5 separate regions of the Homo sapiens genome follow, and regions 2, 3, 4 and 5 are each linked to region 1. Evidence: promoter capture Hi-C in 16 types of primary human blood cells and fetal thymus (Javierre and others, 2016). All regions are on one chromosome and are shown on one strand. Each heading gives the region's core, a stretch centred on a gene start or on the middle of the fragment in contact. The rest is flanking DNA. Distances are from core to core; before and after follow the strand shown.

Region 1 (2,651 bases), core at 73-2,572:
TTCTTGTTTTAAAGAGGGAGGGAGAGGGAGGGAGAGAGAGGGAGAGGGAGGGAGAGGGAGGGAGAGAGAGGGAGAGAGAGGGAGACAGAGGAGAGAGAGGACAGAGAGAGAGAGAGAGAGGAGAGAGAGAGAGATACTGGAAAAGGTGTCCTCATCAGTGTTCTAGAGTTTGTCTCAACCAGATTGGTGTTTGTTCCTTTGGTAGAAAGAAAGCAGAAGTGTGGAAGGGGTAGAAATTTCTTGCACTCTGTATTTTGCAAACTTATGTATGCAAATTTCCTTGCATATGTGTAATGAACCAGAAAAAGTAGGATTCAGGAGCACATGTTTTGGAAAAATACTGCTTTGCCTCTGGCTTTTCAATCCTCACTACTGTTCTGTCACTGGCCCTGGATTCTACCCATACCCTGGCTCTCATCAGCCCCCTGTCTTTGACCCATTTTTCTGCCTGGATTTCTAGTCCTGTGGTTATATTTTTTATATTTGCCCTTTGCTTCCATTTGTTTATCACTCGACTTTATGCTGATATAGTGTGTTTTTGTAAATTGTTTCAAATCCTTTACAGAATGAGGGCTGGGTATAAATGAAAAATTGTGTGCAAACATAAATGTAATACAGCTATCCTCCTGTATCATATTGTCCTTGAAGGTCTAGATAATCTCAGCTCCAAACCCTTTCCCCATCCAGTGAGAAGGCTGTCACTCTCCTCAAGATTTCAGTGAAATGGTTGAAGCTCATTTTTTTCCCAGTCACCCCTGGCTGCTGTTGTAAAGTGCCCACATATTTGAGAAAACTTAGAATTGCACCTCATTTCTCTGCCCAACCTCAGCACTTGCCTTTGGCTGGAGGAGTTGAGAGAGTTGTCTTTTACCTCTGTCTGCTTTCATGGAGTGCTAAGAGCATCTCCCCCACTTTCTAATGCATGCTATTTCAGTTCTCCCTGGCCCCATGTCCAAACACTGGGCCTAAGCCATCCAGCCCAGGCTCACTAAGGTGCATGGCCAGCCCTGGAGCCTGACTGAAGATTTGAAATGTCTGGTCTTCACTTGTCCTTCTCAGCCACCTCAGCAAGGGGTGGGGACAAATACAGAGTTTACTTCCTCCTCATGATGCCACCTTACCTCAAAACAACTTTGATCTGCTTGAGTTGAATGACTTTTCCACCCTCTTTCCTTGGCAGGAACAAGTGACCCTGTCTTCCGTGGCCTCGTGGGGCTGGCTCTGCTCCTCCTCCCTTGACTGAGAGACGTCATGGAGATTGGGTGGAGGGAGGACTGTAGAGTTGGTGCACCCACGTCAGCTAGTTAGGCAATTTCACTTTTCTTTTCCTCTTTGACTGAGCACCGAGGGGCAGTTGGCAGCTTCACCTCAGAGCTGCAGGAAGGAACGGGGCAGTGAAAATCGAATCGGGTGTGATCCTAGGCCAAGCTCATGGCCCAGCAGGGCCAGCAGGGGCAGATGGCAAGTGGAGACAGCAATCTCAACTTCAGGTGGGTCATCGTCTCCTTTCCCGTCTGTCCTTCATCTCTGGTAGGGTTCCCTTTCATACTTGTTATTTAATGTCTACCCAGCTTCACTCTACAGGTATACAATAGAATTCAGTTACAAATAAATAACGAGGCAATCAGATTTTTTAAATTGCAGGGATTGGCTGTTGGAGAAACTCAAGGATGCCGTGACTCACATCATCTTCCTATTCTCTTACATCTGCAAATGGCTGGACTGGAGCTGTTTGAACATCATGCCTGTTCTGAGGCTTTGTGTAGGATTGGATGATTCCCCGTGACCTCTGAACCCTCTCTTCTCCCCCAGGCCTCCTTTATCCCCACTCCAAAAGACAACTCTGTCTAAAAAGGATCTTTTTAGAAGAATTAAAATCCAAACGCCTGTCTGTTGTCACACTTTCCAGGCTGTGTAGTTGGGGACCGGTTCTGCTCTGAGCCCATCTATGTGGCTCTTAGCCCTAGAATCACTTCAGGATCTCTGAATACTTGGTAGGAGGAAGTGAAAGCAGATGAGACCCAACAAAAAAGGCAAGCAGGTAGAGAGTGAGTGCTGCTTCTGCTTTTTTTATTCTTCTGTTCTGGTATTTTTTACATATCTGGTCAGAGAAGCCTGGAAATCATCTTTAAAAAATGTAAGACAATGAGACCAGTCTGACCAACGTGGAGAAACCCTGTCTTTACTAAAAATACAAAATTAGCTGGGTGTCATGGTGTATGCCTGTAATTCCAGCTACTCAGGAGGCTGAGGCAGGATAATCGCTTGAACCAGGGAGGCAGAGGTTTTGGCGAGCCAAGATCACACCATTACACTTTAGCCTGGGCAACAAGAGTGAAATTCCATCTCAAAAAAAAAAAAAAAAAAAGACAAGTACATCAATACGGTCATTTCTTCTTATCTGTGGATTCTGTATCCATGGATCTAACCAACCATGAATGCAAAATATTTTCTAAAAATTAAAAACATAAATAACAACAATAAAAAGTAATATAAAAATTTAAAATACAGTATAACTATTTGTATAGCATTTACATTGTATTAGGTATTATAAGTCTAGAGATGATTTAAAATATACAGGAGGATGTGCATAGGTTATATGTAAATACTACACCTTTTATATCAGGGACTTGAGCATCCATGGATTTTGG
Region 2 (2,651 bases), core at 89-2,588, 640 kb after region 1:
CCAGAACCGACGGCGCTGCGGCCTCTGGACGTCGGGGGTCCGAGGCCGGGTGCCCCCTTCCCACCCCACGCCCTGCCGTCTGGGCCTCCCTGCTCCCCTCTCTTTTCTCCATTCCCAGCCTCTCGCTGGGCTGTCCCCCGACCCCACGGGGAGGGCTCCCAACTGCCCCAGTGCCCTTGCATCCTGGGTCCCCGGGCTCTGTGCGCGTTCCCCCACCCCTGTCATCCCCCTCCCCTACCCCGGCTTCCTCCACTTTCCCTCTGGCCGGGGGGGAGAGAAGGCATTTCCGCCGTGGAAAACTGTCTGAGCTGCGTGCCTTGTGTCCGGGAAGGGCCCGCAGGGGGCAGAACGCGTGGCGGGCAGGGACAGGGAGGGAGGGAGAGCTGGCCCAGCCAGGTTTTATTGTGCCTGGCAAAGGTGTCTACGTGGGCGCCGCCCCCAGCGGTCTTGTGGCTTACCAAGCCCATGTCCTCCCCGCCTCCCCACCCCGCATTGAGGCAGGACTGAGAAAGTCTTTGTCCACTGCTTCCCCACTTCCAGATGCAGGCTTCTGAAGAGTCTTCCTGAACGCCTAGCCCCCTCCCCAGGTTTTGTGGCTCAGGTTCAGTCTTGCCTGGGGCATTAAGGGGCCTGCAGAGGATGACCTGGACCCTGGAGGAGGGGGCGCCGGAGAGGGCCGTCAGAGTTGGGTGTCAGCCTGGGCAGAGACCCTGAGTGAGGAATGCCAGGAGACTGAGAACCCCCTGCCCTTTTATGGTGGTCACTGCAGCAACCAGTGGCTCAGAGCCACAAGAGTTCAACAACCACCTAGGCGAGGTTGGGGGTTGCTGTGCACCCCATGAGAGCAGCTCCCCCCTTTTCATCTGAAGCTTAGGTGGAGGGGGCGCTCCATATTTGAAGAAGATGGTTCTGCAGCTTTAAAAGTTTGCAAGGGGTTCTTCAAGACTCCTTTTCTTTGGAAGGGAAGCTGCCCTCCACTCAGCCTGGGGAGGGGCAGGGATGGGGGCAGGAGGCAGCACGCTTGCCCATCTCTTTTCCTAGCCACCTCTTCCTGGAGATATTTGAGGAGGGAGGACCAGGTCAGACAGTGGGAGGGTGTTATTCCAACTCCATCAGAAGGTCCCCCAGATTTTGCAGGAGCGGCACATTCTCCAGCCGCAGCCTGCTGATGGCATGGGTTTGGGCAGTCTGACAGAGACCTGCATCTCGGGGCATAACTGACATCCTAGCTTCTGGCTTCTCATCAGGCTCTGAAATTGAGCGTCCTTTCTTCCCCCTCACCCAGCATGAAATGGAAATATCAACATCTTCCTGCGTGCTGTTTGTAATGGCCTTGAGCCTGCTGAGTACCTCCTCCCTCAAACTTTGTCAGTTGGGCAGGGTCCCCTCCCTCTCTAATTGGCAAGGGGGAGCTTAGGACTATGCGATCTGGGGAAAGAATTAGAATCCTGGCATCTTTAGGACAGAACTGCATGTTAGTAAACTTTCACAGCTTCCCAAGGCCCTGGCGTGGTGCAGAGGGACTTTAGGTGTTGCAAGTTGGCTCTGCCCATCACCTGCTAGATTTGGAGCCTTGGAAACAGTTCACTTCTGCGGGCCTCCTGTTGCCCCACTTGGCCAACCCGCACATTTCCTCCTTACCCAGTTTCTGGCAAGGAGCCAGGCCTCGTCTCCTGCCCCCAGCAGTGAGCAGGCAGGAGGCCCATTTCTCAGCTGTAGCTCTGTGAGCCGAGGGATGGCAGCCAGGAGGCTGCTTTCTCAGGGCAGGGCGTGTAGATTTTGTCCCGTACTGTTGGGAATGCCCAGGAAAGCTTATTAAAACGTTTCTTCTGGCTGGCAGTGACCCCAGAACCCTCCTTGGTGTCTGAACTGGACTCCAAAACAAGATTTATTTTATTTTATCTATTTTATTTTATTTTATTTTTTTTTTTGAGACAGAGTCTCACTTTTACCCAGGCTAGAGTTCCGTGGCACGATCTTGGCTCATTGCAACCTTCACTTCCAGGTTCAAGTGATTCTCCTGCCTCAGCCTCCCAAGTAGCTGGGAATAAAGGCACCTGCCACCATGCCCGGCTAATTTTTGTATTTTTAGTAGAGACAGGGTTTCACCATGTTGGCCAGACTGGTCTCAAATTCCTGACCTCAGGTGATCTTCCCACCTCAGCCTCCCAAATTGTTGGGATTACAGGTGTCAGCCACCACACCCGGCCCAAAACAAGATGTAAAAAGTGATCCGCAGGAGGAGCACTCGGTGAACAGATGATTGTGCGGTGAACAGATGATTGTGCGTTGGGGCAGTTCTTGACCTGTGTCCAGGCCCAGAGTGAGGGCGGGGTGGGGGCAGGGTGAGGCGGCAGGAGCACCCTCTCGGTGGGCACTGCCCCTGCTTCTGAGCAAAAACTGCAACACAAGGAGGATTTTGTCTGTGGACCTGAGACTGGAAGGAAGTGCCTCAGTGGGCCAGGGAGGGATGGGGGTGGGGGCCAGCTGGGCTTCCAGCTGCCCGGCCTCCCCCCCTGGTGTTTTGACTCTGAGATAATGAGGAGCTGGGACACTGCCAGCTTGGGAAGTGGGCTGGACCGGAAGCACCCCCTGGGACAGCAAAGCACTCCCTCCCAGCGCCAACTGGATCCCTCCTCCCCTTTGGGGGC
Region 3 (2,651 bases), core at 79-2,578, 590 kb after region 1:
AGGGGAGCTATCCAAAATGGGAGTTTGGGGGCAGCTAAAGTTGACATGCGAATAAATTGATACTGAAACTTAGCAACTTCTTAAAAGTGTAAAGAAGCCTCATAAGATCATAAGGAAAATGTATATATGCTTTTCACAGCTTTCTAGAATTTTTTGACATTTGATTTTCTTGAGACTTGTAAACCTGGATATGTTGAAGGGTATTTGTTAATTTTACTTTTCAAAGATACTTTAAAACAGTAGAGCTAGCAATGACACCTTGCATTTCATTTCAACACTGCTTCAAGGTTTCTTTTGTATATAATTCTTAGAATGCTCATTTCTTTTAAATGGTTTAATTTGTACAGCAGAGGAATGTTATTGTAGTAGTATGTAACTATTACCTAATACTGAGTTTTTGCAAAAAACAATGAATGCTCATATGTAATTGAAATACTTCAGATCACATGAAAATGCTGATTTAACATTTAAGTATCACAGCATTAAAAGAAAAAGAAAGTAAACCAGTCCTTTGTATTCAGTTACCTAATGGGGTGCCATCAATAAGCTGCGATACAGCCCTGGAGCTCAGTCAGCCACACCTTCCTGCATCCTATTGGCCTTATTCATTTTAAATGAGTTAATGAATCTGCCAGATCTGTGAATGATAGAGATTATGCTAAATTAATGCTGATTCTTTGTGTGTGTGGGAAATCTCTGTAGAGCACCTTTTCTTTCTTAGACTAAGTAACCCAGTACAATAGTTGTGAACTGAATAATTAAAACTTTGGCTTCTCTTAGGAAAAGACGACTTCCTAGTCATAGGTGTCCTATGGGGAAATTTATTTTTTTTAATGTCCTGTTCCTTAATGCTGCAAATTATCAGTATTTATAAAGTAACTGATTTTGCACCACTTTTTTGTTACTGTGACCACGGCAGAACAATGTCTTCTAGACTATATCTATGTAAAGTTATTAGAATGGTATCTGTTCATTTTAGTGATATGAAGATCACAACTAACAACTGACAAATCAGAGTTTGCCAGTTCAAATTCAGCATGGCTGCAGCTGATTAAGAAATTGATATGATTATTCTTTGCTAGCCTCTCTTACTAATGGAATTATATACTGGCCAGTAAAATGGGCCTCCCAATTGCTGTTTCAGCAGGTTTTAAACCTTCAGGAACACCAGTTAGGAAAATAGCTCCAGAAAATATAGATATATTTTATTTTTATTAAAATGGCAGTCTACATCATAATTGGCATTTCTCAAGACTGTCTTTACCAGAATCTGTGTGAAATAAGGCAATCTAGTCTCCTTGAAAAAAAAATCTCTTGGATGTTTAGGAAGGAAGACTTGGCCGTGATGTGGTGTCCTGGCTTTGTGGTGTAGTGCTGTGTGTATGGAGTTAGTGTAAAAACATGGATTACACCAAGTGGAAGAAACGTCTTCTTGCCAAGCTCATTCTTAGAACTTACACATCTAGAACAGCTTCCACTTTGGCAGTGAGGTCGTAGCCTTTTAGGTGGAAGAAGTGAGGGTGCAGCGTGTCAGACACAACATTCATGTTACTCTTACATTGGAATCTGAAGGTAGTTCAGACTTCGTGGGTTTTGTTTTTAAGCAAAACAATGTGAAAACATTTAAGTTTGAAATGTTGCATTTGAAGTTATGATCATTTAATATATTCATATTACCAAGACTATTATACTGGAAGTGGTTTTTGTGTTATAAAGGTTTAATTTTACATAAGGCAGTTACTTAATGTGATTTTTAACCCTTAAAAAAGTGGAGATGTATACATTTGTTAACAATGCCATGAAAGCATTTTCTTTCTCCTAAGGAAAAGTGAATTTCTTATCAGAATATCTGGCTGGCCCTGTAATTTAAATTAAAATAAAATTTTGGAGAAACAGCATTGTCTGTCTTTATGATGTGTTATAGACAGTTGCATTTGTGTTACTGTGAACAGCTTCATCAGGAGACACACAAGCCCGAATTTTATCACCAACTGAAAGTGGAGGGACAGTTAACACCCATTCCTGTCTGCCTTTTTCCCTGTTCAGGGGCTTCACTTCCCCCCCACCGCCCCCGTGCTCATGTTTTCCTTACCCTTCCTGAGTAAAATCACACCTTTTAATGGTACCATTTCTTAGACCCTAACGTTTGAGGAGTAGATCCTCTCTTGCGCTGTTAGCAACACCGCGAGGCTAAACTAGAACACTCGGCCCGGAGTATTCACAGGTTACTGATGTGAAATGATCATGAAGGCGAGGGGACCGTGGAAGCAGGCACAAGAACTCTGGCACCGTAAAGAATGTCCCTCGTCTGCCTTCCAGGGTGCCTCGTAATCCTTAGTTCACAGCCCTGCCCTCGACTTTAACCCCTGTCAGTAAATGAAATCTTATTCTCTGGAGTGAAGGCAAGGGACATGCTCTTGCCAAAAACACTTCATCCGAATAACAATGTCCTATTTGTTATTTCTGTCAAGTAGTTCAGTCTACTTGTACGTTGTAGTTCCCCAAAGGTGACAAGGGCCCATTAAGTCATAACTTGTGACTTGGCCACTTATAAGGATCACCAGGCTGAGGACTGGATTCACGCTTCAGCTCAAATTCCACTTCCTACCACAATCCCCCATCAAATGCCCTCCTCCCCTTGCCAAAGAAGC
Region 4 (2,651 bases), core at 50-2,549, 550 kb after region 1:
TAATCCACAGGGCTTGTTCAGATTTCACCAGTTTTACAGTTTGTGTGGATATGCATATAGCTCTATGCAATTGCATCACACTTATCTGTTCTCCAAGTCTATACATTTTATTACTTCAAGAATGTTAAATAAATAGAATCATATAGTGTGTAAACTTTTGAGATGGGCTTTCTTCCACTCAGCATCATTCCCATGAGATCCACACAAGTGGTTGTGAGTGTCACTAGTTCATTGCTCTGGAGAAACAAGTAGGTCATGGTTCCAGGTGCTCTGTCTCACTTCATCCACTTTTTTTCTTCCCCCCCCGAGATGGAGTCTCGCTCTGTCACCCAGGCTGGCATGCGGTGGCACGATCTCGGCTCACTGCAAGCTCCACCTCCTGGGTTCATGCCATTCTACTGCCTCAGCCTCCCCAGTAGCTGGGACTACAGGCGCCTGCCACGCCCGGCTAATTTTTTGTATTTTTAGTTGAGACGGGGTTTCACCGTATTAGCCAGGATGGTCTCGATCTCCTGACCTCATGATCCGCCCGCCTCAGCCTCTTAAAGTGCTGAGATTACAGGCTTGAGCCACCGCACCTGGCCTTTCATCCACTTTTTTAGTTTTACTTTATTCTAACTAGTATATTGGAATTCTACATTGTGTAGTAGGGAAGTGTGTATGAGTGTGTGCGAGAAAGATCTTTGTTTCCTTCATAGATTCTAATTTATTTCTGTATCTATACAAAGTCATGTTCTAATGATGTATATGATGTATGTTCATTCCCCCAAAAAGCAGAAAATACAAGACTATAAAGAAAAAAATTAAGTTTATCCTTAATTCAGTACCACGTGAAATGACTACTGTTAACTTGGTGGGGATTCTCATTCATATTCTAGCTTGTTTTCTCCCTCTCTCTGGGGCAGATAAGTAAATGAGTATGGGGTCATGCTGCTCTGTAACCTGTTGGTGTTTTTTTTGTTTTTTTTTTTTTAATTTTAAATTTTAACATCTTTTCATGTGCATATAGATCTCAATTTTGTTTTTTTTTTTTTAAATATGGAGTCTTGCTCTGTCACCCAGGCTGGAGTGCAGTGGCATAATCTCAGCTCACTGCAACTTCTGCCTCCCAGGTTCAAGCAATTCTTGTGCCTCAGCCTCCCAAGTAGCTGGGATTACAGGTACCTGGCTGATTTTCATATTTTTAATAGAGATGGGGTTTCACCATGTTGGCCAGGCTGGTCTTGAACTCCTGACCTCAAGTGATCGCCACCTTGACCACCTCCCAAAGTGCTGGGATTACAGGTGTGAGCCACCACCCCTGGCCCTCAATTATTTTTAAAGCCTGCCGTGGTTCTTCCATTTTATGGGTACGTAATGATTAAACTAGTTCAGTGGGATAACTTTTACTTCTAATTCTTTGCTGTTGTAAGTAACACTGCATGTACTTACCTTTGTGTACTTGTCTGTTTCCATAGGGTAAATTCCTGAAAGTATAATTCACAGGAAGTTGCAGAAATGAGTCAGAGGCCTTGCACCTTTTAAAACTCTTCAATAACATTTTGCCAAATTGCCCTCCAGTAAAGTTGTACCAATTTATTTTCCTACCAGTGGCGTATCTAAAAGCCTTTGCCTCTGATAAGAAGGAAGAATATTTTATCCTTTTAAGATTGTTACTATTACTATGAAATAGAATCTTTTGTAAGGTTTTTAATGTCTGACTTAGCCATTTGTATACTTCAGCATGTTACTATGTTTGTCTTTAAGTGTGCTTTCTATATTGAGGTTAGAATTGCTACTAACTACTAAAAATTGGGGACAGTGAAGAGGGCAGCCCAGTCTTGTATCTCACCAAGTAAAGTCCTGTCCCTTCATGTGGAAGTAGCCTTCTTGTCACCTTGTTTCCTAACGTAAGGCCGGTTTGGATCTACTGAGTGCTTGAGTCCAGAGGAGGAGTGTTGGTAAGGGCTGTGAGTACTTCAAGGACATTGCATAGAAGCACTAATGGGTATGTGAGCTGTCTTCTCGAGTCTTCTGAAATTGTACTTTTGTATCACTACTTTTTATCAGCAATTGCCTCTAGTGACAGTAAAATAGTGCACTGATAGGTACCGTGGGAATATTGGATTTAAGTCAAGAGAGTTAATACGAAACCTCCTGAGGTTTTGGTGATCTCTGAAAAGGCCATTTGTACTAATGTTTAGCTTACTAATTGCTTATTTTCCCACCCTGTTTTATTTTTTAATGGGAAAGCAGGCAGTGAAAAATCTCATAGCCTTAGTGCTACTTGAAGAGGTTATTATGGACTCTATCCTTAAAAATTTGAAGTCCTGTTACACGTTACTTAACAACAGGGATACATTCCAAAAAATGCATCATTAGGCGATTTCTTCCAGCCTGTTGCTCCTAGGCTACAAATCTGTGTAGCTTGTTACTATAGCGAATACTGTAGGCAGTTGGAACACAATGGCAAGTATTTGTTTATCTAAACATAGAAAAGGTACAGCAAAAATATGGTATTGTATCTGTGGGACCACAGTTGTCTCTGTGGTCTGCTGTTGACCAAGACGTTATGTGGTGCGTGACTATAGTTACCTATGTCCTCACCCTGGGAGGGAAAGTTTAGTTTCTGATACTGTTATTAGTGAGGTGAGCATTAGGTGTGAACTTTG
Region 5 (2,651 bases), core at 113-2,612, 530 kb after region 1:
GATAGGAAAGATAATATTTTCAGAGGACATATTGTGAGTGTGATACACTGTTTATGGAGAAGCAACTTGCATGCTTCCCCCCCACCCCCTGCCGCCCACTCCCCTGCCCAAAGGAAAAAGTAATGATCCAGGAAAAGGAAAAGAATGATCCAGGCTTTGTGTCCCATCTGGCTTGTAGAGCGATCATATGACAGCTAGTTAAGAGTGACTCCCCTAACGTCAGTTCAAACTTTTAGGCATAGAAAAGTTATTTAGAAGTGGACTTAAAGATCCTTGGATTTTATGGCTGGGCATGATGGCTCACACCTGTAATCCCAGCACTTTGGGAGGCCGAGGTGGGTGGCTCCCTTGAGGCCAGGAGTTGAGACCAGCCTAGCCAACATGGTGAAAACCCATCTCTACTAAAAATACAAAAATTAGCTGGGTTGGTGGTGCACACCTATAGTCCCAGCTACTTGGGAGGCTAACGCTGAGGCACAAGAATCACTTGAACCTGGGAGGTGGAGATTACAGTGAGCCAAGATTGCGCTGCTGCACTCCAACCTGGGTGACACAGCGAGACTCCAAAAAAAAAAAAAAAAAAAATCCTTGGATATTTAAGAACCTATGACAAAGGATATGCATTAAACTATTTCTCTTTGGTTAATTTTGTCAAAAAAGGATTTACAAGGTGACAGAAGGTAAGATAGGCAATATTTGGGGTTAGAGATTGGTTGGAACAGTTCACATCAGAACATGTTGAGAAATAACATACTTGTTTATGATTTAGTTGTAGGCTTGACATTAGCATTCATTTGCATGTTTTAAACATTCTTTATAAACAAATATGTAAGTCACTCTATTTCAAACTTAAGGGAAAAACACTCAAGTTTGTTCATCAAATCTTAGGTAAAGCTCAAAAGAAGTGTTATGATACTATGCAATGGATGTATTTTTGTGTTTATATAGAAGGGGAAAACAAAGTGGGGTTGGGGTGTCTGAGAGCCACCTTTTCTTGGGTGTGTGTGGGGAGCACCTTGGGCAGTTAAATATAGGATGTTGAAACTTACAGTCAGAAAACCACTGATCTAAGTGATCCATAAGGTTTTTCTAAAAAGTGTCATCTTTCGGTGTCTGATAGGAGACTGTTTAGTGCCTGTGAATTTAACTACTTCTAGTTTTTTTACTGAAAAATGGTAACTTCCAACATGTTCCCAAGTCACTTCCATTGTTTGTCTTGTTAACTTTGTTTCTTCATAGTGCCTTCTTGGAATAGTTGCATGTTCTCCTTTTGGATGATGTAATACTGTGGTTTATGTGGTTGAAATGTTGTTTTCTACTACCCACAAAAAATTAAGAACTTCTAGAAGTTCATCATCCTCAGGGTTTTATCCAGCGAGTTCTTTCATAGGAGATGGTCAAATCCAGGCAAAAAGAGTACATCTTGACAACTGTCACATAGGGGATTACAGGATCTAATGGGAGATTTTATTCCCCTGTCCAGGCTTCTCTCTAGCTCTGAGACCCTGTGACTGCCTGAATAAGATGGGTGTGCCGAGGAAGTGTGTGCCATATTCAGGGCAGCCCACTGGGGTGCTTAGGAGGAGCAGCGTGAACACCGGGAAAAGAGCATCTGGAGAGACCTAGATAGTAGGCTGTTGCTAGTGCTGTTTGGCTAAACACCCTACCTAACTTTTTGCCTCAGTTGCCTCAGCTGTAAAATAGATACTATCAATTTGATGTACAGTGTGGTGATTAAGGACGCTTTGGATCAAGACAGATCTGAGCTTGTTTGACCACTTAGTACCTTGAGCCTCACGCTCAACCTTGCTAAACTTCACCAGTAAATAGGAGCAGGAGATTGTTAGAAAGGGTTTCATGAAATGATGAGTTCTAGTGCTCAGCATCAGGCCTGGCAGTAGCAGTTGCCCTGTGAGTGGGAGCTGCTGCTCTCTACCTCAGCAGCATCAGTCAGCATGTTCGTCCCCATTTGCGTGGTTAGGAGAGCAATTGATTTGAAGGAAAGAAAAACAAAGTGTTTTGAAAAATACAGTGTTCTGTAATTCTAAGACATCTGTGTATTATCATTTCTTGCATATATTTGTGGATTTCCCTGTTCCTACTGATTTTGAAAGTTATGTAAAATGACTTGCCTAAACACGGGTTTTCTTCCCAGATTAGGATTTAGAAAGTCTGTCTTCCGTTGATCCCAGTGTTTGCTCACATGAACCTTGTGCTGTGTTCTAGGTAGCACAGGCGGAGTGCAGCGGAGGCCCCTGCCGCTGCCGTCATGCCGTTCCCGTTTGGGAAGTCTCACAAATCTCCAGCAGACATTGTGAAGAATCTGAAGGAGAGCATGGCTGTTCTGGAAAAGCAAGACATTTCTGATAAAAAAGCAGAAAAGGTATGGATTTGGCTTTATTTATATTTGAAATATCTTAATTAGCAAATGCAAGACACCTTATATGAGGAATCAGTAAGTCCCAATTTGGGTTTATTTTGGATTTTAAAAATAACATCCAAAAGCAACATATGCTGCTGTTGCAACATACTTTTTCTTCTGTATTTTCGTCTAACAAATAGATTTCTAACTGTTCTGTCAGGTTTTCGAGTTTATTTAAATTGTGTTTATTTCATCTTGAAGTGTTTGATTCTAATTTATTTATTTATTA

The links. Contacts are between HindIII fragments. The CHiCAGO score rates a contact against its expected background, and 5 or more counts as called.
Region 2: a contact is called between a fragment that was not itself captured here and the fragment with the promoter of SP140 in region 1, in 1 of 17 cell types (activated CD4 T cells). The highest score is 5.5, in activated CD4 T cells.
Region 3: a fragment that was not itself captured here is called in contact with the fragment with the promoter of SP140 in region 1 in 1 of 17 cell types (naive CD4 T cells); the score reaches 5.2 in naive CD4 T cells.
Region 4: a contact is called between a fragment that was not itself captured here and the fragment with the promoter of SP140 in region 1, in 5 of 17 cell types (activated CD4 T cells, non-activated CD4 T cells, naive CD8 T cells and 2 more). The highest score is 9.9, in activated CD4 T cells.
Region 5: a fragment that was not itself captured here is called in contact with the fragment with the promoter of SP140 in region 1 in 5 of 17 cell types (neutrophils, activated CD4 T cells, non-activated CD4 T cells and 2 more); the score reaches 8.9 in neutrophils.

Annotation. Positions count from the first base shown.
Region 1 is chr2:230,224,414-230,227,064 of GRCh38, forward strand. SP140 (SP140 nuclear body protein) reads left to right here and starts at 1,323. Exons shown (of 27, transcript NM_007237.5): 1 at 1,323-1,490. The coding sequence starts at 1,432. It also overlaps a transcript of SP110 not described here. RefSeq lists enhancers at 1,203-1,412, 1,643-1,692, 1,763-1,842, 1,863-1,912. The HindIII fragment of the contact is 6,572 bases long and covers 1-2,651 here.
Region 2 is chr2:230,865,749-230,868,399 of GRCh38, forward strand. All of the region lies in intron 1 of ITM2C (integral membrane protein 2C), which reads left to right. Among named protein-coding and RNA genes, the nearest start is that of ITM2C, 2.1 kb to the left of the region's middle. RefSeq lists an enhancer at 1-510 and a silencer at 294-393. The HindIII fragment of the contact is 942 bases long and covers 868-1,809 here.
Region 3 is chr2:230,819,178-230,821,828 of GRCh38, forward strand. CAB39 (calcium binding protein 39) reads left to right here. Exons shown (of 9, transcript NM_016289.4): 9 at 1-1,898. Among named protein-coding and RNA genes, the nearest start is that of ITM2C, 44 kb to the right of the region's middle. The HindIII fragment of the contact is 3,617 bases long and covers 1-2,651 here.
Region 4 is chr2:230,776,403-230,779,053 of GRCh38, forward strand. The region is part of intron 2 of CAB39 (calcium binding protein 39); the gene reads left to right. Among named protein-coding and RNA genes, the nearest start is that of CAB39, 65 kb to the left of the region's middle. The HindIII fragment of the contact is 3,089 bases long and covers 1-2,651 here.
Region 5 is chr2:230,757,733-230,760,383 of GRCh38, forward strand. It overlaps CAB39 (calcium binding protein 39), which reads left to right. Exons shown (of 9, transcript NM_016289.4): 2 at 2,227-2,383. The coding sequence starts at 2,270. Among named protein-coding and RNA genes, the nearest start is that of CAB39, 46 kb to the left of the region's middle. RefSeq lists an enhancer at 1,188-1,287. The HindIII fragment of the contact is 5,262 bases long and covers 1-2,651 here.